3 separate regions of the Homo sapiens genome follow, and all the other regions are linked to region 1. Evidence: promoter capture Hi-C in 16 types of primary human blood cells and fetal thymus (Javierre and others, 2016). All regions are on one chromosome and are shown on one strand. The core of a region is centred on a gene start or on the middle of the fragment in contact, and the rest is flanking DNA. Distances in the headings are between cores, read along the strand shown.

Evidence for each region. Contacts are between HindIII fragments. The CHiCAGO score rates a contact against its expected background, and 5 or more counts as called.
Region 2: a contact is called between a fragment that was not itself captured here and the fragment with the promoter of EPB41L2 in region 1, in 1 of 17 cell types (endothelial precursors). The highest score is 5.2, in endothelial precursors.
Region 3: a contact is called between the fragment with the promoter of AKAP7 here and the fragment with the promoter of EPB41L2 in region 1, in 5 of 17 cell types (monocytes, neutrophils, naive CD8 T cells and 2 more). The highest score is 8.4, in monocytes.

What each region holds. Positions count from the first base shown.
Region 1 is chr6:131,060,026-131,065,167 of GRCh38, forward strand. It overlaps EPB41L2 (erythrocyte membrane protein band 4.1 like 2), which reads right to left and starts at 3,220. Exons shown (of 20, transcript NM_001431.4): 1 at 3,130-3,220. LOC105378004 (a long non-coding RNA gene) reads left to right here and starts at 3,378. Exons shown (of 3, transcript XR_942993.3): 1 at 3,378-3,591. RefSeq lists silencers at 2,677-2,776, 3,117-3,456. The HindIII fragment of the contact is 3,039 bases long and covers 1,625-4,663 here.
Region 2 is chr6:130,974,875-130,980,016 of GRCh38, forward strand. The region is part of intron 1 of EPB41L2 (erythrocyte membrane protein band 4.1 like 2); the gene reads right to left. Among named protein-coding and RNA genes, the nearest start is that of EPB41L2, 86 kb to the right of the region's middle. The HindIII fragment of the contact is 1,133 bases long and covers 2,174-3,306 here.
Region 3 is chr6:131,131,575-131,136,716 of GRCh38, forward strand. It overlaps AKAP7 (A-kinase anchoring protein 7), which reads left to right and starts at 3,893. Exons shown (of 8, transcript NM_016377.4): 1 at 3,893-4,208. The coding sequence starts at 4,190. RefSeq lists enhancers at 3,524-4,024, 4,461-4,520 and silencers at 3,851-3,940, 4,091-4,200. The HindIII fragment of the contact is 7,096 bases long and covers 2,704-5,142 here.

The DNA.
Region 1 (5,142 bases), core at 1,970-4,469:
AAAACTAGTAGCAATTCACACTTTTCAATAAAAAGCCCACACATAGCTTTTAAACAGGCTACTTCAGTTCAAAAAAGAAAGAAAAAGGCCCATGTCTTCAGCTGGGATTACAGGCGTGCGCCACCATGCCCGGCTAATTTTTGTATTTTTAGTAGAGACAGAGTAGAAACAGAAACAAAACAAAACCTTCAAAAATATTTAGCATTCTGCTATATAAAATATAAACCCTATATTCCTAAATGAAATGGCAAAGATACAACCTTTGTAGTTCACCAGCCACAGTAATATGAGAGGGGTGATTCAGGGCAGAACCTGATGTTAAACATAACTGTACAATATTACTAATTACAGAGAAATTGTACCAATAAATATTTTGGTTGTGGACTGCTTTGTCATCTTTGCAAGTATTTTTAGTTGAAAGCAAGTGGTTGGGTAGTACACGTGGACATGGTTCTGATTTTTAAATACCTATTTTTACATTCTGGTCACTGGTTAGGTTTTCTAAACTCAATTCCTTAGAACTAGTAATTTGGAAAGGGTAAGCCACAAGAATGTTACGTTAAGAAGCCAAGGATCTAACTAGCTCAGCAACTCAGATCAGCACAAAACTCATTTGGAAACCTCCAAGTGCTAGCATTATCTAATGATGGACCCAGGCAGTCAGTAAATCGTTAAGAACAGGTATGAAAGTGAGCAAACTGCCCTAAAGCTATCTCCTGAAAAACAGCAAGAGATATCTGAACTTCCTTCTTTTATATTTAGATGGTTATTTTTTTGGTGGCCTCTCTTCAGATTCATCCCCTAAATTAAATTTGCTTCTTTCTACTTGGACTTAAATTTCAGATTTGAAATATACACACTTAGTTGCTACAAAATGCTCCCTGGCAGTTTACATTTTTTACAAAAGTTAGGAAAAATTTTACTGAAATTATAGCTTTAACTGATTTTTTAAAATCACTTTTAATCTTTTTTAAGGATCACCATGCAACGTAGATATATGAAGAGTTCGAGGGACGTGGCTCAATTCATCCACGAATTTTCTTTCGAAGGTTTTTGCAAAAAGTGCTCTCAACTACTTGGACTAGTGGTTAAAGATTAAAGAACTGTTATGACTAAGTCTTTCTTACAGAGGGATGTTTTAAAAGGAAAGAAACCGTCCCTTCCCGTTACTCTAAATGAGCAGCCTCTTGTTCTCGGCAGTCTGTCTGCACACAAGACCACTACTGACTTCAGTGGGAATTCTGCCCAAGAAGTGAGGAAGACAGGATAGGATTAAATTAGCGCTAAATCCACACCATTGTTCCAAGCCATTACCACTTGTACAGTTCTCCAATAACCTCCAAAGAATAGATATCTGAAGTTTGATGGTGGTTCTTAAATTGAATTAAAAGAATGACCACTCGAGCTCTGACAGGTGACACAGCATAGCTCTTCAAAAGTTGTGTCAAACTCACAGCCTAACGGATGGAGCCAGTTGGCCCTTATCACAATTCAAGATTGCATTGCAATGCAGCCCCCATCAGTGGCTGCAACAGCCACCCAGTGATTTCTCACAGCAATGAGCCTGCAAAGGGAAACTGAATAGGATTAAGCACTATTCGTTCCCCCACTGAAACCTGTTCAAAGCTTGAGAATTCTAAATCCTAGCCCCTGCAGCATAGAAACTGACTCAGTTTCCCTCAACTGCTAAGTCCAAGGTGAAATCTGACAGAACACCAACTGAAATGCTAATTCTCAACAGCGTTATAAAGAGACCAGATAAATAATGTATTCCGTTGAAAAAAACAATAAAAACGTAGGGTGGGGGAGGAAATAAAGACTGAAAAACTGAGGGGAAAACCGCGAAAGTCGTTTTTTTAAAACAGCTTAAATAACAGTAACAAGAGGAACAAGACGCCTGGCACACACATGCCATTTCAGAGGCAAGAAGTTCAAGAAACTGGGGAAAGATGTGATTCAGAAAAGCGAAAATATAGCCACAGCTCCTCTAGATTCCACCTTCTCTCCCATCCACCCAGGGATCTTAAAATTAAGGGCAGCTGTGGTGTTGATGGGGCAATTCAATGAAAGACTACCCGGGTCCGTAGGGAGGGCTCCATACGCAGACCCCTCCCCAAAATAATAGACTCTAGGCAGTAGTTCTTCTCACCAAACCTCATTTTATTTATACATATATATAAAAAAAAAAACTTGACCTCAGGGGAGGTGAGCGATCTAGAGAAGCATAACTGATGTCCCACCACAGACCTCAGGCTGCTGGGGGCAGCGTCTGCGCCTGGGGATGGCGTCCCCAGACGCCGACTTCAACCCTGTCGCGCTCCTTTAGGTTCTCCTCGCCCTTCCCCGCTGCTCACCTAAAAATGCTCCCAACCCTCGGCCCCCAGGCGCAGGAGGAGAAAAAACAAGCCATCTGTGGTGAGATGGCCTGGGTGTGGGAATTGTAAGGATCGGAGCACGAAACACGCGTCCCTCTCCGCAGCTCCCAGACGGCGCAGGCGGCAGCTGGGGGCGCGGACGCGAGCCTACAGCGGGCCCGACCCGCACCGCGCGTGGGGCTGGCGCGCCGCCCTCGCCCGGCTTCCCGCAGTCCCCACGCGCGCGGCCGGCCCGCGCTTCCCCTCCTAAAACCTTCCTCCTGAAGGGCGACGCCGCGGCCGACCCCCTCCCCGCGGGGGGGATGGAGCCGGATTTTTCCCGCTGTTGCTCCACGGGGCCCGGACGCGTGACCTGAGCCCACGGCACCCCGGGGGGGACGGCGTCCTCCCCGTGCCCCCGCCTTTCCTGGCTCCGCCGGGACGCGGCCCCGGTCCCCCGGAAGAGGGAAGAGGGGGACCGCGGGGAGCAGCGAAGCCGGGATCCGGCCCGGAGCAACAGGACCCGGACCCCCGGGCAAGAATCGGGTCGGGCAGAGACCGGGAAGGAAAGGAGAGAGGGAGCCGCAGAAAATCCCAAAGCCGGGCCCCCTCTCCCCGCCCCCCATCCCGGTGGGACCGTCCCGCCACCGCTTCCTGCCCGGAATCAGCTTCCCAGCTGCAGCCAGAGGAAAAATCTGAGCCGCCCCTGCAACCCCACACTGACCAGTCGCCCGGCCCGTGCAGCCCCGCACGCCTCCTTACCCCGACGCCGTACCTCAGGAGCTCGCTCGCCGCGGGACCCGTCCCTCTTCAGTCCCAGCCGCCGGCAGCCGCGCCTGCCTCCTCCCTCCGCTAGGTTTCAAATTGAAATTCCCTGACTGGGGCCGTCAGAGGACTCTGAGGGCCGGCCCCGCCCCCTCGCGGCGGAAGCCCCTCCCGCGACCCCGCCGGACGAGCCCCCGGCGCGGAAACCCCCGCGGGCGGTCCCGCCCCCGACGCCCAGGCCCCGCCCCTGCGCGGGCGGGGGACCTTTCCCGCGGGATTCGGCAAGCGCGGCCGCGGAGACCCGGGGGTGGAGGACGTCTTTCGCCCTCAGGGCAGCCCGGATGACAGCTAATGCGCCTGGGCAAGGCGTTCTCAACTGCGATTCCCGGCCTTAAATGTCCTCTCAACTTTTAAAAGTTATTTATTCAAAGTGCATTTGCTGACTAAACCTTCACTGAGCGCCTTCCTAGAGGTAAACACTGGAGCAGAGCCTGGAGATGCAGAATAAGGAAAACTGGGTCTCCCTCAGTCTAGAGTGGAAAAAGTGCTTTCACAGGAAGGGCATTGAAAAGGAACCATTTATTCTTCCTGTGGGAGGGACAGGAGGGGTTGGGGAAACCCCGTGGAGGAAAGGCCTCCCCAGAGTAAGTAGGATTTCTCTGGGCAGAGGCCTGGGAATCTGGATTGCAGAGCATGACCACGGGTGAAGAAGAGTCTGGAAAAAACCTAGTTTGGGGCTAAATTGTGGAAAGCCACAAGCACACACACGCTACCCTTCTGGTTCTTTTCTTTTGTACAATGAGGTCAATATGTTTCAGATTCAATATATTTCATCTTTTGAAGGTTTGCACGTCAAGCTGGTGTCAAACAACGTGTCCAGCTCACTGCCTCCAGCATCTGCCTCACACGCACCTCTTATCCCTTTTACTCCTCCCACTTTTATTGAGGTCTTTAGTGATTCCACCACAGCCAAAGTCGTCTCCCTTTCTTTCCTAAACAGAACCTTTTCCAAAATTAACAATGTCAAATGAAACCTCAGTAACAATACCTTCCAGTTAACAAAATACATTCACATATTTTATCATCATTTGATCCTCACAATCACCCTATGAAAAAGGCAGGCACGTTTGAGCTCCATTACATCAAAAAGATTTGGGAAGATAAATTATTTGCCAAGGTCCTTCTAGTAAATAATACAAATAATAATAGTTAAGGTTGATTGTGTGCTTTATGTGCTAGGCATTGTTCTAAGTCCCTTACATGTATTAATTTAATCACAATCCCATATGCTAAGTATACAAGTTAAATTTTATAAGGTGTGCTAAAACAGAGCAGAAATCTGATTAGACAGCAATTCTGGTAAAGGAGACCTGGGAATTTAATGAGAAAATACTATTATTTTCTCATAATAAGAAATATGCAGCAGATTTACAACGAAACTAATGAAACAAACTTCGGGATCTCTCATTTTCACAAGCCTTGAAACTAACTTTATAATTTTGTATTTCATTTTGTGTTTTTTAAAGAGTCCCTAAAGTCATATAAGCTTTTGGGCCCATAAAACATTGAACCACCCTGATGGAGCCCCCTTTAAAATGCTAGTGCAAAATAACATAAATATAGGCATAGTTAATAAAATATAATGCCCTTCTCATAAGAAAGGATATGCTTACTATACTCTGCGTTGAAGTACATGAATCACTCCTATATGCCACCTCTTAAGAAGAAATTTTTCCCTCCAAAAGAAAATATTGATAAGCTAAATTATAACCATAAATGGGTGACCTTGAAAATGTGGGAACCAGCAAGATTTAGCCTAAAGAGATGATTAAAGGTGATAAAAAGGTTGTCAAATGTATAAAGGCTATTGTGTGAAAGAAGAATTGAACTCTGTTTTTGGACACAGCCTTACATAGCCCTGGCATTTTAATGGAATGGAACAGATTCAGTGAGGACCTAGCAGGAACTGAGGGCAGAAAAATCAAGTCCCAGAAGCTATAAGGAAGTGAAGAAAACTGATGGA
Region 2 (5,142 bases), core at 1,490-3,989, 86 kb before region 1:
AGCCTCCCGAGTACCTGGGACTACAGGTGCCCGCCACCACACCTGGCTAATTTTTGTTATTTTTAGGAGAGACGGGGTTTCACCATATTGGCCAGGCTGGCAAGGCAGCCGTTTTAACACTCTTGTTTTCCAGATAAGTCAAGTGAACCCAGAGAGGTGAAATAACATGTGAGGTTACTTGATGGGTTATTAGCAGAGAAGTACACAAAGCACGTCCAGTGTCATTTACTTATTTCCAATATGATTTAAATACATTTGAGTACACAAAATATATAGGAAACATCTACAAATGTCTTAATATTCAAACATTGTTATTATATGAATTTATATCTATTACATGTATTTTGAGAAGACCAAAAAAGGTCATGTTTCGACAATGTCTCATTATTTCATTAAAACAGGAAATTAGGTTTATCCTCCAAAAGTTAATTTTAAAATATTCAAGGAAGTTGGTTAAGGTTAGGAGGGGAACACTTTCCCTACATTTGTGTATGTGAGTTTGTGTAGACACAGAATTTTATCTTAAACCCAGTATCATAATTTGACTTTTAAAAATCATCCTACCTCCTACTTTATGAGGACAAAGAATGAGTAAGATACAGAGAACCCAATAATCTGATGAGTCACTCATGGCTCAAAAACCTTAAGAGACACAAACTCTAGGCAGAAAGTACAGTTATCAATATCACAGAAAAGACAATGAGGAAGAAGAATTCCTTTTGGTTATCTCACTTCTGCTCATCTAGCCCCCATCTGTAAAGTGATTATCATCTATCCTACTAAGAAAAGAACCAGACAACACAATTTTCTGGAAAAAAACTAAAATAACCTAAAAAGTACTCAGAAGAAATTTTGTAAAAAACCTCTGGCCAGGCGTGGTAGCTCACGCCTGTAATCCCAGCACTTTGGGAGGCCAAGGTGGGTGGATCACCTGAGGTCAGGAGTTCAAGACCATCCTGGCCAACATGGTAAAACCCCGTCTCTACTAAAAATACAAAAAAAAATTAGCTGGGCGCGGTGGCATGTGCCTGTAATCCCAGCTAGTCGGGAGGCTGAGGCAGGAGAATCACTTGAGCCTGGGAGGTGGAGGTTGCAGTGAACCAAGATTGCACCATTGCACTCCAGCCTGGGCAACAAAGCAAGACTCCGTCTCAAAAACAAAACAAAACAAAACAAAACTCTTTTTTTTTATTCTGATTGTACAGGGAATCCAATCTTCCCATCTACCAATCGTCATGCAAGATTACTTCCTGAACAAACATGGACAGGAGTTTCATGACTCTTCAATATGAATGAACTTCCCAGTCGGTCTATAAAATTTTTTTAACGTTTTTAAAAATGGTCCACATTTCATAGGATCATTGATACTGACATATCTGATGTAGGCAGAAAAACTAATTTTTTTCACTAGCACCTTGGCTCTAATGTGCAAGTTCTTCTTTGACCACATACCACAGTTTAACTTCTCTCAGGCTCTAAACCAGAATAATGTATACAACTGCACATGCGTCACCTGCAAAGTTTCTTCCCTACCAGACATCTTAGCAATGTTAGACTCATATGTTCAATTACATTAAAAACAATTACATTTTTAAGATGTAATGTTGAAAAGTACTGTAGATTTATGGGACTCTAGGAAAGAAAGATACTGCATGACCCCAGATTTTTACAAGGGGTATAGAGAGAAAGTGGAAGCAGGTACAGAAGGAGGAAAATGGACAAAAGAATAAAAGAGTGGTGGCTGAGAATCTCTAATCAAAAAGTTACTGTTTTGAACCAAGGAAGCATCTAAAAAGTATTAGGATAAAACTCTTAACAAATCCTTCTTGTCTGCTTTTAATTAACTACAAAAGTCAAAAGCACCACTTTTTAAATTACACAATCAGACAAGTATAGTAATCCAGCAGGTACATTAAACTGTATTATTTTCATTCTATTTTATGTCTAAGAAATATGTGCTGCATTCCTGCTTTACACCAGACACTGGTCTAGGCCCTAAAGACCTAGGGAAAGTTCTTGCCCACAAGAATCTACTGGACATTTACAGTCTAGCAGGCAAGTCAGACACATAAACAAATCATTACACCATATGTGATAAGGGCTGTAAGAGAGGTACAAGAAGGGCACAAAGGAAATGGTCACCTCCTTTGGGTGGTCAAAGAAAGCGTTATAAAGCTTACAATTATAAGATCATTCTTCTCTCACACTTTGAAGGAGCAGATGCTACCACTCGGTCATAATGACACCCACCTTGCCTTAGGGATGAAAGAAATAAAACAAAAGCACCTACCACAAAGTCCACTACATACAAAGCAGAAACAACAATCTTGCTAGCAGCTGTATAATACTCTACATATGACTGAGCAAAATGGAATTTGTAAAGAATCAAAGTAGTTCAGAGCTAAAAGGATCTCAATGTTCATGTACCTCTACCTCTTGCCTTTAATTAGATGGGAAATCTAAGGCCCAGCAGTTAGATTATTTACATAGCAAATCAGTAGCAAGATCTCACCAGGATAGATGTCAGATTCTTACTAATAATCTCAATGCCTTTTCCTGTAGCAAACTGTCCTGCCTGGATGAGAAGGGGAGACACACTGTTAAGGAGAGAAAAAAGAAAAAAAGAATAGAGACCCTTCATTGTTGTCCAAGGGCCAGAAGAAACAAAACAGCCCTAAGACTAGGAATCCAAGAGATCTACAATGCTCCCCAGCTCTGCTCCAACTTCTGTACTCATGAAAAATGCCATAACCTCCCTCCTCCCCCAAAATTCTAAGTCTCCAAAAATAAAAGGGCAATTGTCAAGAAATTATCTACTCTTCTTAACCTTAAGGAACATCAAACGTCCTCAAACAGCTTGAGATATGCTCCCATGTTGCCAGTTAGCTACACGTATAACATAAAAGTAGCAGCTGCTAACCTACCTATATAATGGGATTGTTTTAAAGATCAAAAAAGAATCATAATAGCTACTGGTAAAGTGCAAAACACTAAATGAATGCAATTTACTGTTAAACACAGAATTTCCATGGTCAAAAGGTTCATCTACGCCTTTTCCCCTAAAAGTGGTGGAAGGTATCATTATGGTTTAACTTTATTTTTAAAAAGCAAACATTAATGTATAATAATTTCCTACCAATCCAATGTATCTATTTCTTTCTCAATTTGTAGAAGGAAAATTCTATCCCTACCTAACCCATCCCCTATAATTTCCCTTCTTTCTTTTCTCTCCTTTACTTTAAAACAGCCACCACCATTCCAAGAGGCTCTGCTAGAACCATATAAACATCAAACGTGTAAACACAAAGCTTTTATCAAAAAACATGTTGTATAAAGTTGAATGCTGCTTCTACCAGGGCAAGCTGGGGAAACATTAAGGTGTATTGTAATAAGCAATGCCCAGCTACAAACCCAGAGTGTGGTGGGGAGGTACAGCCCCAATCTGGGGCCCTCTCCTCACTTCACCTGTCTCACTATCCTCCTTCTGCCTGATACATGATCTGCAATGGTGTGGCCACTTGTTGAGAACCCAGTGTACTTCCAGTCCTTCATAACTTTATTAGCTCTCCATAATTTGAGACTACAGCTCTGTCGCTTCACTTTCAAAACCTAACTCTCTAAATTTGAATTAGAAAATCCTAACCACAAGTGCCAAGATGTTCTCAATCCACAACCACACCTACTCAAAACAATAAATAAAAAATATCTAATATCAAGCCATTATACTCACCATTACCTCTGCCCATGAAATCTTGATTTTAATACTGTACTTTTGGGTTTTGTAAAGATCCATTCATTCCATGAGGAATTGCTTTGTGCTTGCTGATAGCTGCTGAGGACACAGACCTGTATAAAATGTGGCTCCAGCAGTGTGAGAGCAGGGCATTTAAATAGCTAACTACAAAGGGAATAAGAGCTATAATGGAAGCATAAACAATTTAGCACTTAACAGACTTGATGAAGGAAGAATGCTTCCCGAGGTGACACTTGACCTGACCTTGAAGGATAAGAAGGAGCTTACTGGGCTTATTATAAGTGGGTAGAAGCACACTCTTCACCGTGGGAACAGTAAGTGAAGGACACAGAATCATGAAAGATAAATGCATTGTAGAGAACACTGAGAACTTCAAGTGCCTGGAACACAGGGGTGGGGAGTGGAGGAGACAGGACAAGGGAAGCAACACCCAAATAATGCATGATCAATATGCTAAGCTCAGATGTTTTTACTCTATTCTGCAGGCAATAAGAAAATGCTATTAACTTTGTATTTCTGGAAGATGACTTTGGCAGCCACATGAGACCAACTGACACAATGAAAGGAAACTGACTGGCCGGGTGTGGTGTTTCATGCCTGTCACCCCAGCACTTTGGGAGGCTGTGGTGGGTTGACCACTTGAGGTCGGAAGTTTGAGACCAGCCTGGCCAACATAGCAAAACCCCATCTCTCCTAAAAATATAAAAATTAGCCTAAAAATACAAAAAAAGTGGCACACGCCTGTAATCCCAGCTACTTGGGAGGCTGAGACATGAGAATTGCTTGAACCCAGGAGGTGGAGGCTGCAGTGAGCCAAGATTGTGCCACTGCACTCCAGCCTGGATGATGGAGCGAGACTCTGTCAAAAAAAAAAAAAAAAAAAAAGGAAACTGGTTAAGATGATGTTCCAGGGATCCAGGAGACTAAGATAGAAGCAATAAGAATGCAAATGAAGAGATGGTATCAATAAATATTTAATGGATAAAATGAATGGGACTTGATAATTAATTGGATTGTGGGAGTAATGAAAAATAAAGCTCCCAAGTTCCTGTGAGTCAAAGGTTAGATAGTGGTACCATGAAGTTAGAAAGAGACTTCCAAACAAAGTAAGAAACAGAAAGGAAGGAAGGAAAAGCTTCCACTTTGAATACATCTGGGCTGAAAATGTGTGACATCCAGGTGGAAATCCGAAGATGGTTGAAGGTATGTGTCTGAATGACAGAGCCTGGTTTCCAGACTGAAATGTGGAACTGCTCAGCCAATCAATGGTATCAGAGGTAGATGAAACTGTAGAGAAAACAAGCAGTAGGATAAATGCTCATCAAAAATCTCCAGGCAGAGAGACCAAAGAACCTATCAAGGAGGCTAAGAAGGATCAGCATTAAGAG
Region 3 (5,142 bases), core at 2,643-5,142, 72 kb after region 1:
ATGTCTATTCATTGAGAAATCTCTATGCATTTGGGAATACGAAGACTTTAAAACATAGTCTTTGCCTTCTAGTGGCGTAAAGTCTAATGTATGAAACAGAAAAATGTGGCAAAAGGGATGGTCAGAGCGGGCACAAGGAGTATTAAAGCCCTCAGGTGGAGTACCTAACCCAAGTAGAAGGGTGGGGTCAGGGACTGTTCCCCAAAGGAGGTCACTGACAGTTCCTACTGATCTTGACCATAGCTGCGGTCCCCTGTGACAGCAGTAGGACAGTTCAATGTACTGATGTGGGAAACAAACTCTATTTAATAACTGCTAAATGGTGCTGAGAATGAGTTAAGGTTAGAGATAATCGGCAAACTGACATAGAGGCTTAAAAATCTTAAAAATCCCTATAGGATGTTTGGTTATTGACAGAACCAGTTAATATTGAAAATCAATTAAATAGATAAATTCGGCCAGGCGCGGTGGGTCACAACTGTAATCCCAGCACTTTGGGAGGCCGAGGCGGGCGGATCATGAGGTCAGGAGATCGAGACCATCTTGGCTAACATAGTGAAACCCCGTCTCTACTAAAAAATACAAAAAATTAGCCGGGCGTGGTGGCGGGCGCCTGTGGTCCCATCTACTCGGGAAGTAGAGCAGGGAGAATGGCGGGAACCCGGGAGGCGGAGCTTGCAGTGAGCCGAGATTGCGCCACCGCACTCCAGCCTGGGCGACAGAGCGAGATTCCGTCTCAGAAAAAAAAAAAAAAGATGAATTCATAGGTATTAATTTGTTTTATGAAAGCAAAAAAGAACCAGGTTGCCCAATGCTTTAACGAAGGTTCACCTGCAGCACGACTCATGAGGGCATGGATCCTCTGGTCCACACTTCCCTCTCCCTCCGTATGTTCTGCCCATTCCTCCCTGACTATTAGTACACAGCCCTTTTCTCCCCAGAGGACAATATACACTGGCACAGTGCCAAAACAACTGGATTGGAAGGGTTTAGTTTTAAGCTACCACACTGTTCCTGGACCACAACACCCCACCGAGATTTTGAAAAGCCTGAGCCAATTATTTTCTAGAATGTCACACATTCTGGATTGGTCTGATTCTTTCCTCATCATGTTATTTTACTTGTACCTCTATCTCCTGTATTTCTGGAAATCTGAAAATTATATTTAAAGCCTTAGCAGCTTCAGGTGAAATATTTATGGCAAGACTACCTTGCAGTGATGATATAGCTTTCACAGGAGCTTTCACAGATTGTCCACCATTAATGATGCTGAGTTTAATCACGATAAAGGTGGTGACAACCAGGTTTATTTACATGGAGTAAAAATATGTTCTCTCCTGAGCAATTACCAAGTATTTTGTGGGGGGTAGTATTTTGGCAACTTATAAATATTTCGGTCCACATTAACCTTTCATGTAATGGTTTTAGAATATATTGATGATCTTTGCATCAATCAGTTATCAGTTGTGGTGGCAAAATGGTAATTTTCCAATTATTTTATGTCTCCTATATTTATTATTGAAAATTCTTCTGTGCAAAGCAGCTTTCCCATACTACTACTTCTAAAAAGTCATGGTAAATCTTTCTTTCCCTTTAATTTTTAGAGTAAGGAGACTAAGGAATTGCGTACTTGTCACCTTTAATGGTGGCCTACTAGTTTTTCTTCCTCATTTTTTGAGTATTATTATGGGTATATAGATTTTGTATTCAGTATGTTACAATAATTACAGGTGTTATCCTTTTATGATGTCAGATTATCTCCCATTTGCTCAAAGAAAGCTGTTTCTCGCTAGTCCTTGTGTTTTTGATAGTCCCCATTTGTCTTTGCTTTTTGGCACAAGAAGATGTCCAAGGTTCACCTTGTACTTCCCTTTCTCCCTGTCATTTCTAAAAGAAGCTCTGTGAAAAATTCCTTTTTCAGACTTGGGTAATTAAAATGTTCCTCCACATGGTAGGTGTTGATAAGACTCTGTATTCATAATACTGGTGGTGAAAAATATGTGGCATTTGGGCTGTTACCTCTGCTTAGGTAAGAGAATGAAACTTCCATATATCTCTTGGTACACACCACAGGGGAAGAAAAATCTTTCTCCTGCCCATTTAGTTCACTAGGTTGGACTGTGTAAATTAAATTGACAAAAGACAGATTAAGACGAGAAAAGGATTATTACACATGCACATAGATGCTTCACAGGAAAGAACTAAAAGCCCGAAGAGGCAGTTAGAACTGGGGGCTTCTATACCATTTTAACGATGATAAAGTGTGGAGAGGCTAGACAAAGGAAAAGGGGGCTTAGCCTTTTTGCAGTATGGGAAGGTTACTAGAAAATGTATGGGTTTGTTATGCAGGTAAGACTCATTCTCCTCTTTCTGGTATGGGTGAGTGGTAAAGCTTTGTTGTTTGTTTGTTTGTTTGAGACAGGATCTGGCTCTGTTGTCCACACTGGAGTGCAATGGCATCATCTCAGCTCACTGCAACCTCCACCTCCTGGGCTCCAGCGATCCTCCCACCTCAGCCTCTGGAGTAGCTGGGATTACAGGCATGGGTCACCACGTCTGGTTAATTTTTGTATTTTTGGTAGAGACAGGGTTTTGCTATGTTGCCCAGGCTGGTTTCAAACTCCTGGACTCAAGTGATCCACTCGCCTTGACCTCCCAAAGTGTTGGGGTTACAAGCGTGAGCCACTGGGCCCGGCCTGGTAAAGCTTTAAAAATAAAAATTTATGTCACCTTTACGAAGGGAAATTTATGTCCTGCTTTTAGGCAGAAAGGGGGAGGTCAAAGTTGTTCCTGAGTCTTTAGTTTCTGAACTGTTTTAAGCTCAAGAATAATCCTTATGCTGAAGTGGCATATTTGGGGTGGCATATTCTCATCCTCTTCACTATGAATGTGGACCACATTTTTGCAGCTTTTATTTCCGCAGTTACTTATGTTTCTTTCTCTGCTATTATATGATCAGCTCCATAAGTAAAAGACCTGTCTTACCTGCACATCCTCAGCACAGAGCTCAAGCATTAAATAAATATTAGGGGAACTGGTTGTACTTTCCTACCAGCCCATAAATGGGCATCAGAAACTCAACGTGTTAGAATTATTTGAAAATCAGAGTAACTAGTTTGCCGACTTCTAGTGTGCAGCCTTTACGCCAGCTGTTGTGGCTGTGTAGGGGTCTTCTTTTCTTCCATCCCTATTCTACGATGCATTCAACATAAGCGAAGTGTTATTATTCACGAAAGGCGCTAATTTGTGGACGGATGCACCTAATGTTCTTAACCCCTGGTTTCTTCGCACTAAAACCAATCCCAATAGCATTCCGTTTCAAGTGAAAGGTTTTTATTTTTTTAAACTAAGTAAATTTCTTTTTCTCCCAATTTACTCACTGCAGTACCTTATACTACAAGAACCAGCAACTGGTTTCCTCTTAATGTCTAAACATAACATCATTGTTAAAAATTAGAGACTTTGTCACAATTTGCAGTTTTTAAAAGTAAGGTAAATAAAGTATCTCATTATACAGAAGTACAAGGTCTCGTTCTTGTACATTTCGCTCTTCCCAAATATTCTGCAATCAGAACCCTGATTGCAAAACTAAGCACATGGATTCTCAAAAGACACCAGGCCAGAGAATTCTTTCATCCTAGTCCCAATCTCGCCCTTGAAAGCGTGGGAGGGGCAAGGCTGCGCCACGGGAAATAAATGAGGGCTGCCAAAGGCCGTCGGAGGCCGCGGGGCTCGGCAGGCAGGCGAAGACCCAGCGTCGCATTGCAGAGTCGAGACGACCTGGGCTGCCGTGACGCCGCAGTCGCCGGCCCTAGTTTCCCCCGCCCTGCCCGAGCGCGTCCGCGCCTCTCGCCCGAATCCGGGTACCACCGGCGACTCGGGTCGGCCCCTTCTGGCTTGTTCCGGCGTCCGGCCTGGCATGCGGGTGCTGCGGCTGCTGCGGCTGCCGCCGCCGCTGCTGCCGCTGCCGCGGGGGCTGCGGCTTGGGAAGCTCCGCGCTTCCGCAGGCCTGGCCTCCGCCGCCCGGGCCCCCGCAGCCTGTCGCTGGACCCCGCGCCGGCCCAGCGCACCGCCCTCAGGCCCCGAGCCCCGCCCTGGCCTCCGCCTCGGCCTCGCCTCCAGCCCCGGGACGCGGCCCGCCACCGCCGCTGCCGCCAGCCCAGACGCGCCGCCCGCATGCGCCGCGACCATGGAGCGCCCCGAAGCGGGTGAGACCGGGCTGTCCAGCGGGCCGGGGCGGGGGCGACAGGAGCCGCGGGGGCCTGGGCCTGCTCTGCGCTCGAACTTTGGGAGGGCCTGACCCGCGCCGGCCCTTCTCCGAGTCTCCCTCCTTCCCAAAAGGACTCAGGGTAGCACCGAGAAGCCCGGTGCAACCGGGGTGTACATCAGTGCTGCCTGTAGCGAAGCGTTTTAATGCACGCATTGTGGGTCCGACAGGAGGCGGGGGTATGAGCCCATCCCCGAGTTTCACTTTTCTTTCTCCCTTTCTCATCCTGTGACCCTTTGCACAAAGTTCATGCCAGTACACATTCCTTCCGACGGTGTTGATGTGGGTAAATGTAAACAAAACCTAGTAAAATTTCGATTTTATCTTATATCACAAATATTAAGCACCCGAACCACCATACTGTCTCATTTAGGATTTTCTGCCAGGTTTGGACATGACCGCTTTTAAAACTGGCGCCAAGTCTACACTAGCGCCCGGAATGAATTTCCAGTTTAGGTCAGCGTTTGTTGTGAACTGAACTTTGTGATAGAGCGAGTTAGGGGTGGACTTTCGGTAAAAGGGTCCGCAAACCAATTAGAGAAAAGGTGCTCCTCTGCAAGAGTTTCATAGGATAAACTCATAGAAGAGTATAAAAAGCATAAAAACGTTAAAGTGTACTATATAAATAGCAGTTAATCGTGTGAATATGTTGACAATTGTTAAGTGAATGATGACAGTGAGTTTTTGCATTTAGGAAATGCATGGGAATGGAAATTGTTAAGGAGAAAAGAGCCATACTCCAGTTCCTTGTTTAAGTGCCGTGGCTTTGCAATTCAGGATCCTGTTAGCATATCTGTATATTTTCCTTACTCATAAAGTTTAAGATGTTTGTGGAGGTTACTTCCTCCTTTCATCCATTTTCGGACACTATTAAC